2 separate regions of the Homo sapiens genome follow, and region 1 is linked to region 2. The links are contacts of gene promoters, found by promoter capture Hi-C in blood cells and fetal thymus (Javierre and others, 2016). All regions are on one chromosome and are shown on one strand. The core of a region is centred on a gene start or on the middle of the fragment in contact, and the rest is flanking DNA. Distances in the headings are between cores, read along the strand shown. Region 1 overlaps LINC02320 (long intergenic non-protein coding RNA 2320). Region 2 holds the start of BEGAIN (brain enriched guanylate kinase associated).

Region 1 (5,406 bases), core at 1,622-4,121, 1.1 Mb before region 2:
TCCCAGAACCCTGCCCCACTTTTCAGCATGCTTCATAATTTTTGTTTGGATGTCAGCCCTTATAAGTGTAAATATGAAGAGACTATGGACAACGTTATTTTCCTCCTGAGAGAGCTAACTTTTTCTTCTGGCATGCAGAGTAACAGGCCACCTTGATCTTGCTGAGCATTAGTTTTAAGCTCTGTTAGGTTTGGCCTATTTCAGTTTCCCCTTACTCCTAAGGTATGGTCTGTGACTGGCTTTGTGTGATTGGTTTATTTCACTTAGTACAATGCACTCAAGCTTCATCCATGCTGTGGCGTATGTCAGAATTTATTTTCTTTAAAAAGTCAAACAATATTCCAGTAATATATAAAATGCATTTTGCTCATTCATTCATTCATTCATTCATTCATTAATCAATGAACACTTGAGTTGCTACCATGTTTTAGCTATTGTGAATAATGGTACTATTTGTATGGCTGTAAAAATATCTCTGTGAGAACCTACTTCCAATTATTTTGGGTATATACCCAGAAGTGGAATTGCTGGATCAAATGGTAATTCTATTATTAATGTTTTGAGGGACAGCTATATTATTTTCCACAGTGGCTATATAATTTTGCATTCCCACCAACAGTGTACAAAGGCTCTAATCACTCTATATCCTTGTCAACACTTTTATTTTCTGTTTTTTTTTTTTTTTTTTTTTTTTTAAATAGCCATCCTAATGGGTGTGAGGTCTTTGACTTGCATTTCTCTAATGATTAGTGATGCTGAACATCTTTCCCTGTGCTTATTGGCCATTTGTGGACTTCTTAGAGAAATGTCTATTCAAATCCTTGCTCAATTTTGAATCAGGTTGTTTGTTTTTTGGTGTTGAGTTTAAAGAGTTTTGTGTATTTTCTCTGTAATGTAGATTTTCTTTTTACTCTGTTGATTATGTCTTTTGATGCATAAAATTTTTCAATTTTCATAAAGTCAATTTTTTCTATTTTTTTCTTTTGTTGCCTGTACTTTTGGTATGACATCCAAAAAATTACTGCCAAATCCAATGTTATGAAGATTTTGCCCTATGTTTTTTCTAGGAGTTTCATAATTTTAGGTCTTATGTTTAGGGCTTTAATCCATTTTGAGTTAATTTTTGTATGTGGTTTCAGGTAAGGGTTCAACTTCATTCTTTTGCATGTGTGTATCTAGTTCTCCTAGCATCACTTGTTGAAAAGACTGCCTTTACCCCATTGAGTGGTCTTGGCATCCTTGTAGAAAATAATTTGACCATATATGCAAAGCTTTTGGACTCTTTGTTCTATTCCATTGGTCTACATGTCTGTCTTTATGTCAGTACCACTCTGTTCTGATTACTATAGCTTTGTATCAAATTTTGAAATCAAGAAGTGTTATTCCTCCATCTTTGTTGTTCTTTTTTTTCCTTTCAGGATTGCTTTGGCTATTAGGGATCCCTTGAACTTCCACATAAATTGTAGGATGACTTTTTCTATTTCTGCAAAAACATTAATGGGATTTTGATCAGGATTGCCTTGAATCTGTAGATTATTTTGAGTAGTACTGACATCCTGACAACATTAAGCCTTCCAATCCATGAACATGGGATGTTTTTCCACTTATTTATGTCTTCTTTAATTCCTTTCAGCAATATTTTATAGTTTTCATTGTACATATCTTTTATCCTTTGGTTAAGTTAATTCTTAAGAATTTTACTCTTTTTGATGCCATTAATGAAATTATTTTCTTAATTTCCTTTTTGGATTGTTCAATGACAGTGTACAGAAATGCCCTAATTTTTGCTTGTTGACCCTGTATCCTGTTACTTTGCTGAATTTGTTATTAGTGCTATAATAGATATTTTTCTTGGTGGAATCTTTAGAGTTTTCTACATACAATTCATCTGTGAACAGGGATAATTTTGCCTCTTTATTTCCAATTTGGATTCCTTTTTTTCTTGCCCAGTTGTTCTAGTTAGGACTTCCAGTACTATGTTGAATAGAAGTGGTAACAGTAGCATCCTTACCTTACTCCTGATCTTAGAGGAAAAGCTTTCAGTCCTTCACTACTGAATTTGATGTTTACTGTGGGTTTTTCATATATGGATTTTATTACATTAAGGCAATTTCCTTCAATTTCTGACTTGTTGAGTGTTTTTAACATGAAAATGTGTTCAGTTTTATACAAGGCTTTTTCTATATCAGTTAGGATGACCGTGTCTTTTTTTCCCCCTTTTAGTTAGTGTGGTGTATTATATTGATTGATTTTTATATGTTGAAATGTCTTTGCATTTCAGGAATAAATACAACTTGGTTATGCTGTATAATTCTTTTAATATGTTGCTGAATTCAGTTTGCTAGTATTTTGTTGAGGAAATTTGCATAATTTTCTAAGGAATCTTGGTCTGTAGTTTTCTTGTGGTATCTTTGTCTGGCTTTGATATCAGCATATGATGGCCTCATAGAATAAGTTTGGGAGTGTTCTCTTCAATTTTTTAGTAATGTTTGAGAAGAATTGGTATTTGTTCATCTTTAAATGTTTTTTAGAATTCACTTAGGAAGCCATCATGTCCAGAGTTTTTCTTTGTCAGAAGATTTTAAATTACTGCTTAAATCTCCTTTCCAGTTATACGTTTATTCAGATTTTCCATTTTCTCACATTTTAGTCTTGTCAGGTTTTGGGTTTCTAGACATTTGTCTATATCATCTAGGTTATCTAACTTGTTGATGTACAATTATTCATAGTGCTCTCTTACAATCCTATTTATTTCTGTAGAATTTGTAGTAATACTCCCAGTAATTTAGAAATTATTTCTGACTTCAATAATTTGAGTGCTCTTGCTCTCCCTCCTTTTTTTTTTTGTCTATCTAGCTAAAGAATTGTCAATTTTGTTGATCTTTTTGAGGAGCTAACTTTTGGTTTTGTTGATTTTCTTTATTATTTTTCTTTAAAAATTTTTAAATCTTTATTATTTTCCTCATTCTGCTAGCTTTGGGCTTAGTTTGTTTTCATTTTTCTAGTTCCTTAAGTTGTAAATTTAGGTTGTTGATATGAGATCTTTCTTAATTTTTAAAGGAAGATTTATAGGTATAAATTTCTCTGTTAGGACTGATTTTGCTGTGTTACATACGTTTTGGTGTGTTTTGTTTCTGTTTTCATTCATCTCTAAGTATTTTCTAACTTCTCTTGTTATTTTCCTTTGATCCATTGGCTGTTTAAGAGTGTGTTGTTCAATTTCCACAAATTTTTGAAATTTCCAGTTTTCCTTTTGTGACTGATTACTAACTTCATTCTGTTGTGGTCAGAGAAGACACTTTGTATTATATTTATCTTTTAAAATTAATTAAGGCATAATTTGTAGTCTAACATATATTTTATCCTGGAACATATCTCGTGAACACTTGAGAAGAATGTGTATACTGTTATTGGGCACAGTGTTCTGTACATGTCTATTAGATTTAATTGGTTTATTGTGTTGTTCAAGTCCTATATTTCCTTACTTATCTTCCGTCTGATTGTTCTATCCATTATTAAAAATGGGATATTGAATTGTCCAACTATTGTTATAGATCTATTTCTTTCTTCAGTTTTGTCAGTTTTTGCTCTACATATTTGATGCTTTATATACCAGTTGTGAAAATGTTTATAACTGTTTATGTCATCTTTCTGTATGGAATGGTTTACTAATATATAAGTCTTTTTCTGTCTCTTATAAGCTTTTTTGATTTAAAATCTATTTTGTCTGATATTAGTATAGCTATTACTGGTCTCTTTTGGTTATTATTTTCATGGAATATCTTTACATTCTTCACTTTCAGCCTATTTCTGTCTTTGGATGGAAAGTGAGCCTTTTGTGGACAGCATATAGTTGGATCGTGCTTTTTAAATCCACTCTGCCAATCACTTTTGATTGGAGAGTTTAATCCATTTACATTTAAAGTAGTTTCCAAGAAGGAAGAACTTATTTCCGTCATTTTGTTATTTGCTATTTGTTTTCTCTAAGCCTCGTAGCTCTTTTGTCCCTTATTACCTTCGTTTCTTTTTCGTCTTGACGACACACTTAAACTTCTTTCTCATTTCCATTTTTTTGGTATATTATTTAGCTATTTTATTTGTGGTTACTGTGGTGATTACGTTTAACACTCTAGTTATAAAACTCTAATTTGAATTGTACAGAGAGTTTTATGCTTACTTCCTCATGGTTCCCACCACCTCAGAATTTTATCCCCTAAGTCCCAGATGGTTAGGCAGCTCTAAACTCCAACTTCTGTCTCCTAAACTTGCAAAGACTTCTGCTTTCTTCTTGGACTTTGTTTTTCTGAATTGGGAAGTAGAAAATGCCCTTATGGAAAATGTGAGGATATTTGTGAAATGTATGTCATGTACTTACCTTCTCTCAGTGTTCATAACCCTTCAAGTTCTGTTGGCCTTGGCTGGTCTCTAATGCCTTCATATAATTGTCTTATATGTTTTACGTATCTTTTTTTTTTTTTTTTTTGAGACAGAGTCTCGCTCTGTCCCCCAGGCTGGAGTGCAGCAGCGCGATCTCTACTCGGCTCACTGCAAGCTCCGCCTCCCGGGTTCACGCCGTTCTCCTGCCTCAGCCTCCCGAGTAGCTGGGACTACAGGCGCCCACCAACACTCCCGGCTAATTTTTTATATTTTTAGTAGAGACGGGGTATCACCGTGTTAGCCAGGATGGTCTCGATCTCCTGACCTCGTGATCCGCCTAACTTGGCCTCCCAAAGTGCTGGGATTACAGGCGTGAGGCACCGCGCCCGGCCGTTTTAACTATCTTTTGCAGTTGTTGTCAGTAAGAGGATTAGCTCTACAAGTCATTCTGTCATGGCTAGAGTCAGAATCCCACTGCCCTTCAGAATTTCTTTTTAAAATTTAATGCATTATAGTACATTGAGGATAACATTTTTACAAATTTTCCAGACGATAGCCTCTTCAAGTGTTCTTGAAAACTTTTGACATGTCTCTAGCAGTTTTGAGTGCTTCCTTACTTTCTGGCACAAATATTTTTTACTTCCCTTGCCCCAGGCCTATTAAACAGCTTCTAGGACAGTTTAGTGGAGACAGATAAAAAGTAAATACTCAAAAATTATTTCATACCAGTACTTCTAATGTCATTCCAACATCTTGAAGTTCTTCCCCTCCTCCCGTTTCATTTTTGAATCCCCCTTCTCTCCAAAAGAACCCTGCTTTTCAATAACATCCATATATTTACTTTTTGCTCAATCTTACAATGAACAGAAAATAGTTTAGGGACTGCAGCCCCAAATCCACTACCAACAGCAAATTTTTCAATAAAGTCCAGGATTTCTTTAAGTTCTTCTTCTACACAAACAGATCGATGTGTTCAAAAAGTGTTTGTAGTTATTATCATTTTCTTCTATGCGGTCATGATATCAAACT
Region 2 (5,533 bases), core at 1,247-3,746:
CCTGCTCCCTGACCACAGTAGAGGACCACGCATCCCAGCGGGGAGATTGATGTCCACATCAACAGACAGATCAGATAGCTCTGGAACGCAGTAAGAGACACGCAAAAAACAAAATAGGGCAACGAGATTGAGCCATGGGGATGGTGATGTCAAACAGAGTGGTCCGTAGAGGTCTGAATGAGGGCAGGGGCCTGAGGAGAGGGTCCTCCATGGCCCCAGGGCATCACCTCGAAGTCCTGCCACTTTCATCCCTTCTTCCCAACCCGGCTGAAACCTTGCCTCCTCCAGGAAGCCTGCCTGATGCCCCAGGCTCTGCTGCACTGACTGTAGTTTCCCCATCTGCAAAAAGGGGCTAGTACCACTTCCCCTACAGGGGCATTGCAGGGATGCTCCCAGACCCACAACCAATGCCTGCTTTCTCTCCGCCTTCCTAGCTTAAGGGGGCTGGAGTGGGAAGGATAGAAGAGAGGGCAGGGAGGGTGGGGACGGGAGGTGCGTGCAGCATGGGGGAGGGGCTCTCCTGGGGCCTTCCCAGGCAGGCCTGAGCTGAAGCCTGCAAGCTGCTGGAGCTGAAGCAGGAGCCGCCCCCACCCCACCCGCCCCTCCCCCGCCTCCCCAGCCATCTGTGGCGTTGGCAGCAGCAGTGCCAGGGCGGGCGGTGAACATTCTGGCACCATCTGAGCAGGACCAGCCTCTGGGGAAGGGCCGCAGCCCAGGAGGAGGCAATGTGGGCAGAGCCCTGCCTGTACCCCAGGTTCCACATCCCCCATTGGTGTTTGTCCCCTTAGGGACTGGGGAGGGAAGGGACACTGGAGCTGGCAGGCTGGGCCTCACTACCTCTCACAGGATGCCTCCACTGCTGTGTGCTGCCTGAATGGTGTCTGAACCTGAGAGGCCAGAGTGGAGGTCAGGGAGCCTGTCCCTACTCCTGCTGGGGAGACTAAGGCCCCCTTGAGCAAAGAGGCTGGTCCCGTGGTGCACACCAGCGACGGTTTGGGCGAAGTCTGTCCACGCTTCGCCCAAACTGGGAGAGCCCCGCCCTGAGCTGCCGCCTCTCATTTTGTCTTGACTGTGGTGGGGTGCACTTGGAGGCGCCTCCCTCTGTCCATTGGTTACCCAATCATGTCCCTGGGACCTGAGAGGGAGCAGAGACAGGACTTTGCTTGACACGAAGTGGCTCCAGTCAGCTGCTGGTTCTTTTGCTTGTCTCCTTTTTTTCTGGGTTTCCCCTCTTGCCTTGCTATCAGTGCCTTTTCTCAGCACTGACACTGCCTGAATGTAGCAACCTACTCCCCAGATTAAATGAGAGAGCGTAGAAACTGCAAAGCATACAACATACAGCATATAAGGATGGTGGTGATGGCAGCTCAACAGTGGGAACTCAGTGTCCCCAAACTGTACACTTTAAAAGTGGTTAAAATGGTAAATTTTATGTTTTCCATGTTTTCCACAATTAAAAAACAAAAATATACAAGGTACTCATTCGCAGCATCTTCTAATCTGCCATGTACTTGGAAATGATATAAGCATGTGTGAACCATGAGCCCATAGGTCCCGAGGGAGGATATGAGCGAAGCACACGGGCTTTGCCAGCTCTGTTTCCACCACGCAGGACCCTCCCTGGCTGCCAGTGCTCCTCCCCGGGTTCCCACGCTGGCTGCTGCTGGGCTGGCTGGGATGGAAGACCCTCATGTAGCTGGCACCCTCAGGGCTGCCCCTTGCCCGCTCTGGGAGGAGAGAGGAGGGTTCACGCTGCACCTTTACCAGGGTAGGACTGGCCAGCCTGGGCTCTACCGGGCAGGTCGGTGGGATGCTTCAGACTGGAGGGATAGGCAGGGGGCAACACTGGTCCTCCTGAAGCCACCTTCCCTTCCTGAGAGCTCCTTGGGGAGAAGGCAAGCCCTGGAAGCCACCGACTGGGGGCTCGGGCAGAGCAAGGGCAGGGTAAGGGGCAGCTTGGCCAGGAGGCACCCTTGGGAGCCAGGGTTTCCTCATCTGTAAAATGTGACTCTGCGAGGGCAGGAGCTTGGTTTCACTCGCTACTGTACCCCCTGGGGCCTACAGCAGGGCTGGTTGGTACACACTAGGTGTCTAATAAATGTTGAGGGATTGAATGGATGGACCGATGAAAAGGTTGGGCAGGTCATTACTGACAGCCTCTGGGTTTCAAGGGCCCATTCACTCTGTCACTCACCTTCGCGCCCGTGCATTAGTTCTCTCATTTATTCATTCCCCCCGCCCCCCCAGCCCCGCATGCTCTACCGCACTCATTCATTCACGCGCTCAGCCATTCAAGCTGGCGCGGGTTCATTCATTCCCTGCCCCTCTGCCATTCCTCGCCTGGCCCCCGCGCACGCCGCACCCCCGCGCCCCTGCCCGGCCCTGCGCCCACCACTTGCGCCCCGGCCGGGCGCTGCCGGGAGGACGCGCGGGCTCAGCCGCGGCTGCGCGGGGCCGGGGCTGGCGGGGAGCCGGGCTGGGGGCGGGGGGCGGGCGCTCCCTGCGGGAAGCCGGGCGGGGTGGGGGAGCCCCGGCCGCGCCGGCTCCCGGCGCGCTCGGCCTCGGAGGGGAGGGGGCGGCGGTAGCGGCGGCGGCGGTGAGCGGCGCGGCTGCCCTGGGGCCATGTGGACTGGCGGTCGCCGGCCGGGCCGGCTGCGCCGGGCGGTGAGTACCTGCGAGCCGGGAGGGCAGGGCGCGGGCGCGGGCGCGGAGGCGGGGCGGGCGCCACCCACGCCTGGGGCGGTCCCTGCTCAGCGCGGGAGGTGGCCGGCCCCCCGCCCCGCTCCCCTCCGCGCTGCGCCCCCGCCGTGGAGGCTTCACTGGCCCGGGAGGAGCCGGGCCGGGTCTCCTGGGAACTGGGCACTCTCGGGTGGGGCGGGGATGCCCAGCCTCCGCGCGCCGCCGGGAGCGCCCGGGTCCTATCGCGGGGTCCTTGCGCCCTGACACGCGCGCCCCTGCGGCGGAAGGAAAGGAGGGACGGGTGACCAAGGGCGCGGCCGGAGGACTGGGGACCCGCCGCTGTCCCGGGCGGGTGGCGAGGGTGCGGGCAGGCCTGGACCCGCCTGCGTCTGGGGGCAGGGCCAGCCCCTGCTTGGGAGGCCGGAGAAAGGCCCGGGAGCCGGAAGGAGGCTGGACCCGGGGCCGCCTCATTGAGCGTTTGCAGCGCGTGGGCGCGCACGAACCTCGGACACCACCATCCCATTCAGTACCTCGCGGCAGGTACTATCCTCCTGCCCCTTTACAGGCGAGGAAACTGAGGCTCAGGGAGGCCAGGGCCTCGCCCAGAGCGGCTCAGCCGGCGCGCTCACCCTCCCTGAGCCCCAGCACGTTGGATGGGAATTTCTGCCCCAGCGTTTCCGCTTCCTGCTTGGTTTAGAGGTGTTTCCTTCCTCGTCTGTGCCCCACCCCATCCCCAATGTGGTTTCCTCAGGGCAGGAACAGCGTGGGCGACGCGCTGGAGTCTCCTGAGCCGGCAGAATGGGAGCAGAGTGGGCACCCGGGAGCGGGGCCGGATGGATAGGGAGCACTGCACGTGCAAAGTCCGCATGGCCAAGGTCGGCCGCCAGTGCAGACTGGGGGTCCAGGCCCTGGGGGTATGGGTGGGGCGGGGTCTCCACAGCCAGGCTCCGTCGGAGGCCCCAGTGCTCTGGCTCTCTGGAGGCCATGGACAGGTTCTTTTCCTTCTCTGGACCCTAGTTCCTCTGCCTGCCAAGAGCAGCAGAGACCCCCACTACTCCCAGGGCCAGGCTCCCACGAGGACTGTGGGCAGAAGCCCCTAACAAACTGCGGTGTGCAGCCCTGCCAGGCTGGCCTTGGTCTTGCCAGCAGGGGCAACTGGCCGTTGGGGGTGGCTCTGCCTGGCATCTGTGACACGCAGGGCGGGGAGACGGCAGAGAGGGCCCCAGCAGCATCCTGCAAACCCTTAATTTTCCCGACTCTCACTATAATCAGGGCAGCTTGGAAAAGCAAGCACTGTGGCAGATGCGGCTCTGCCCGGGCTCAGCACACGGGCTCTGGGCGATGGGCGGCTGCGCTGCCGCCAAGGGCCCTCCCCAGCTTTTGTCTCATATTTATAGATTCCAAGGCTCCGCGTTCCGTTTGTCGTCAAAACCTGGAGCTGTTCGCACCTGGGAGCTGAGTGGGGAGGGGAGGGCTGCCTAGAACCTCAGCCTGGAGGATGAGTTTTCCATGCGCTGGGGTGGAGTAGGGGGACACCTGTCAGAGCCCAGGCCTGGAGAGAGGAAATGAGCCCTAAGCAATCTGGAAGATCTTCCATCCACTCTCCCAAGACTTGGGCGCAGGGTCTGGCCCACATAGCTGCCATTTATGGAACGCCTGCTATGTACTGGGCCCTGGATCAGCATTTCCACGCATCATCTCCACGGCAACACTTTGAAGGAGCTTCCCTACTCCTGCAGGCACTCCTGATGCTGAAGAGTGGATGGATGGATGAATGGATGGATGGATGGATGGATGGATGGATGGATGGATGGATGGGAGGGAGGGAGGGATGGATGGGAGGGATGGATGGATGGGAGGGAGGGAGGGAGGGATGGATGGATGGGAGGGAGGGAGGGAGGGATGGATGGGAGGGAGGGAAGGAGGGATGGATGGGAGGGATGGGAGGGATGGATGGATGGGATGGATGGATGGATGGATGGGAGGGAGGGAGGGAGGGAGGGATGGATGGATGGATGGATGGATGGATGGATGGATGGGAGGGATTGACTGAAGCCCATGAGTCCATGGCTATTGGACACAGTCCACAAATCATTACCCAGGGTCCCAGGAGGTGGGGTCCAAGGGCTGAGTAGTTGCTGAACAGATGAAGGGGTCAAGGTGTGTTACAGGAGCCTGGCCCAAGGCCTGAAGGTGATGGGGAGAGTGTAGAGTGTTCAAGTCTCAAGACTTAGAGAGGCTGTGTCCTGCTGGAGTGTGGAAGCCATGGCGGTGGGGAGGTGTGGCTCCTCCCCCTAAGGGAGGTAAGGATCCCTGGGACAGATGGGTGGGTGACCCTAGGACTCGCCGTGTTGGTCTAGAATCACCCCGCATGGTTCTCTTCTGACTCCCCTTCCTGCCGCAGAGCTGGTCGCTAGCCTTAGTGGAGAGGCCTGGACGGAGGTCTGCAGCCCTGGGTTCTGGTTCCTCCTCTGCCGCTGACTCACTGTCTCCTCTCTAGGGCTCCGTATCAGAAGCTTAACACCCATTACAGTCAGGGGAGTGACTTCTGTGGCCTGAGAGCAGGCATCAGATTGTAGCCTGTGGTGGGAGAAGCTGGCCAGAGGTGTCTCTATTGCTTTAATCATTATAGGAATGAATGAATGAATGAATGATGAATGACTAAGTGTGTGAATTCTACACTCACCTAACATGCTGTACCTAAGCACCCACTCTGCACTGCTCATTGGGGTCACTTAGGTGAGTCTGACACAGACCTTGCCCTCCACGAGTCCACAGTTTGCTGGGAGACATGGACCTTGGCCAGTACGGCAGGAGTCAGGAGCTGCTGGGGCTCTTCTCTCCCCTCTAGCCA

Evidence for each region. Contacts are between HindIII fragments. The CHiCAGO score rates a contact against its expected background, and 5 or more counts as called.
Region 1: a fragment that was not itself captured here is called in contact with the fragment with the promoter of BEGAIN in region 2 in 1 of 17 cell types (endothelial precursors); the score reaches 6.0 in endothelial precursors.

What each region holds. Positions count from the first base shown.
Region 1 is chr14:101,642,347-101,647,752 of GRCh38, reverse strand. All of the region lies in intron 1 of LINC02320 (long intergenic non-protein coding RNA 2320), which reads left to right. Among named protein-coding and RNA genes, the nearest start is that of DIO3, 84 kb to the right of the region's middle. The HindIII fragment of the contact is 1,665 bases long and covers 2,039-3,703 here.
Region 2 is chr14:100,584,380-100,589,912 of GRCh38, reverse strand. It overlaps BEGAIN (brain enriched guanylate kinase associated), which reads left to right and starts at 2,496. Exons shown (of 7, transcript NM_001385089.1): 1 at 2,496-2,664. The coding sequence starts at 2,623. The HindIII fragment of the contact is 6,858 bases long and covers 1-5,197 here.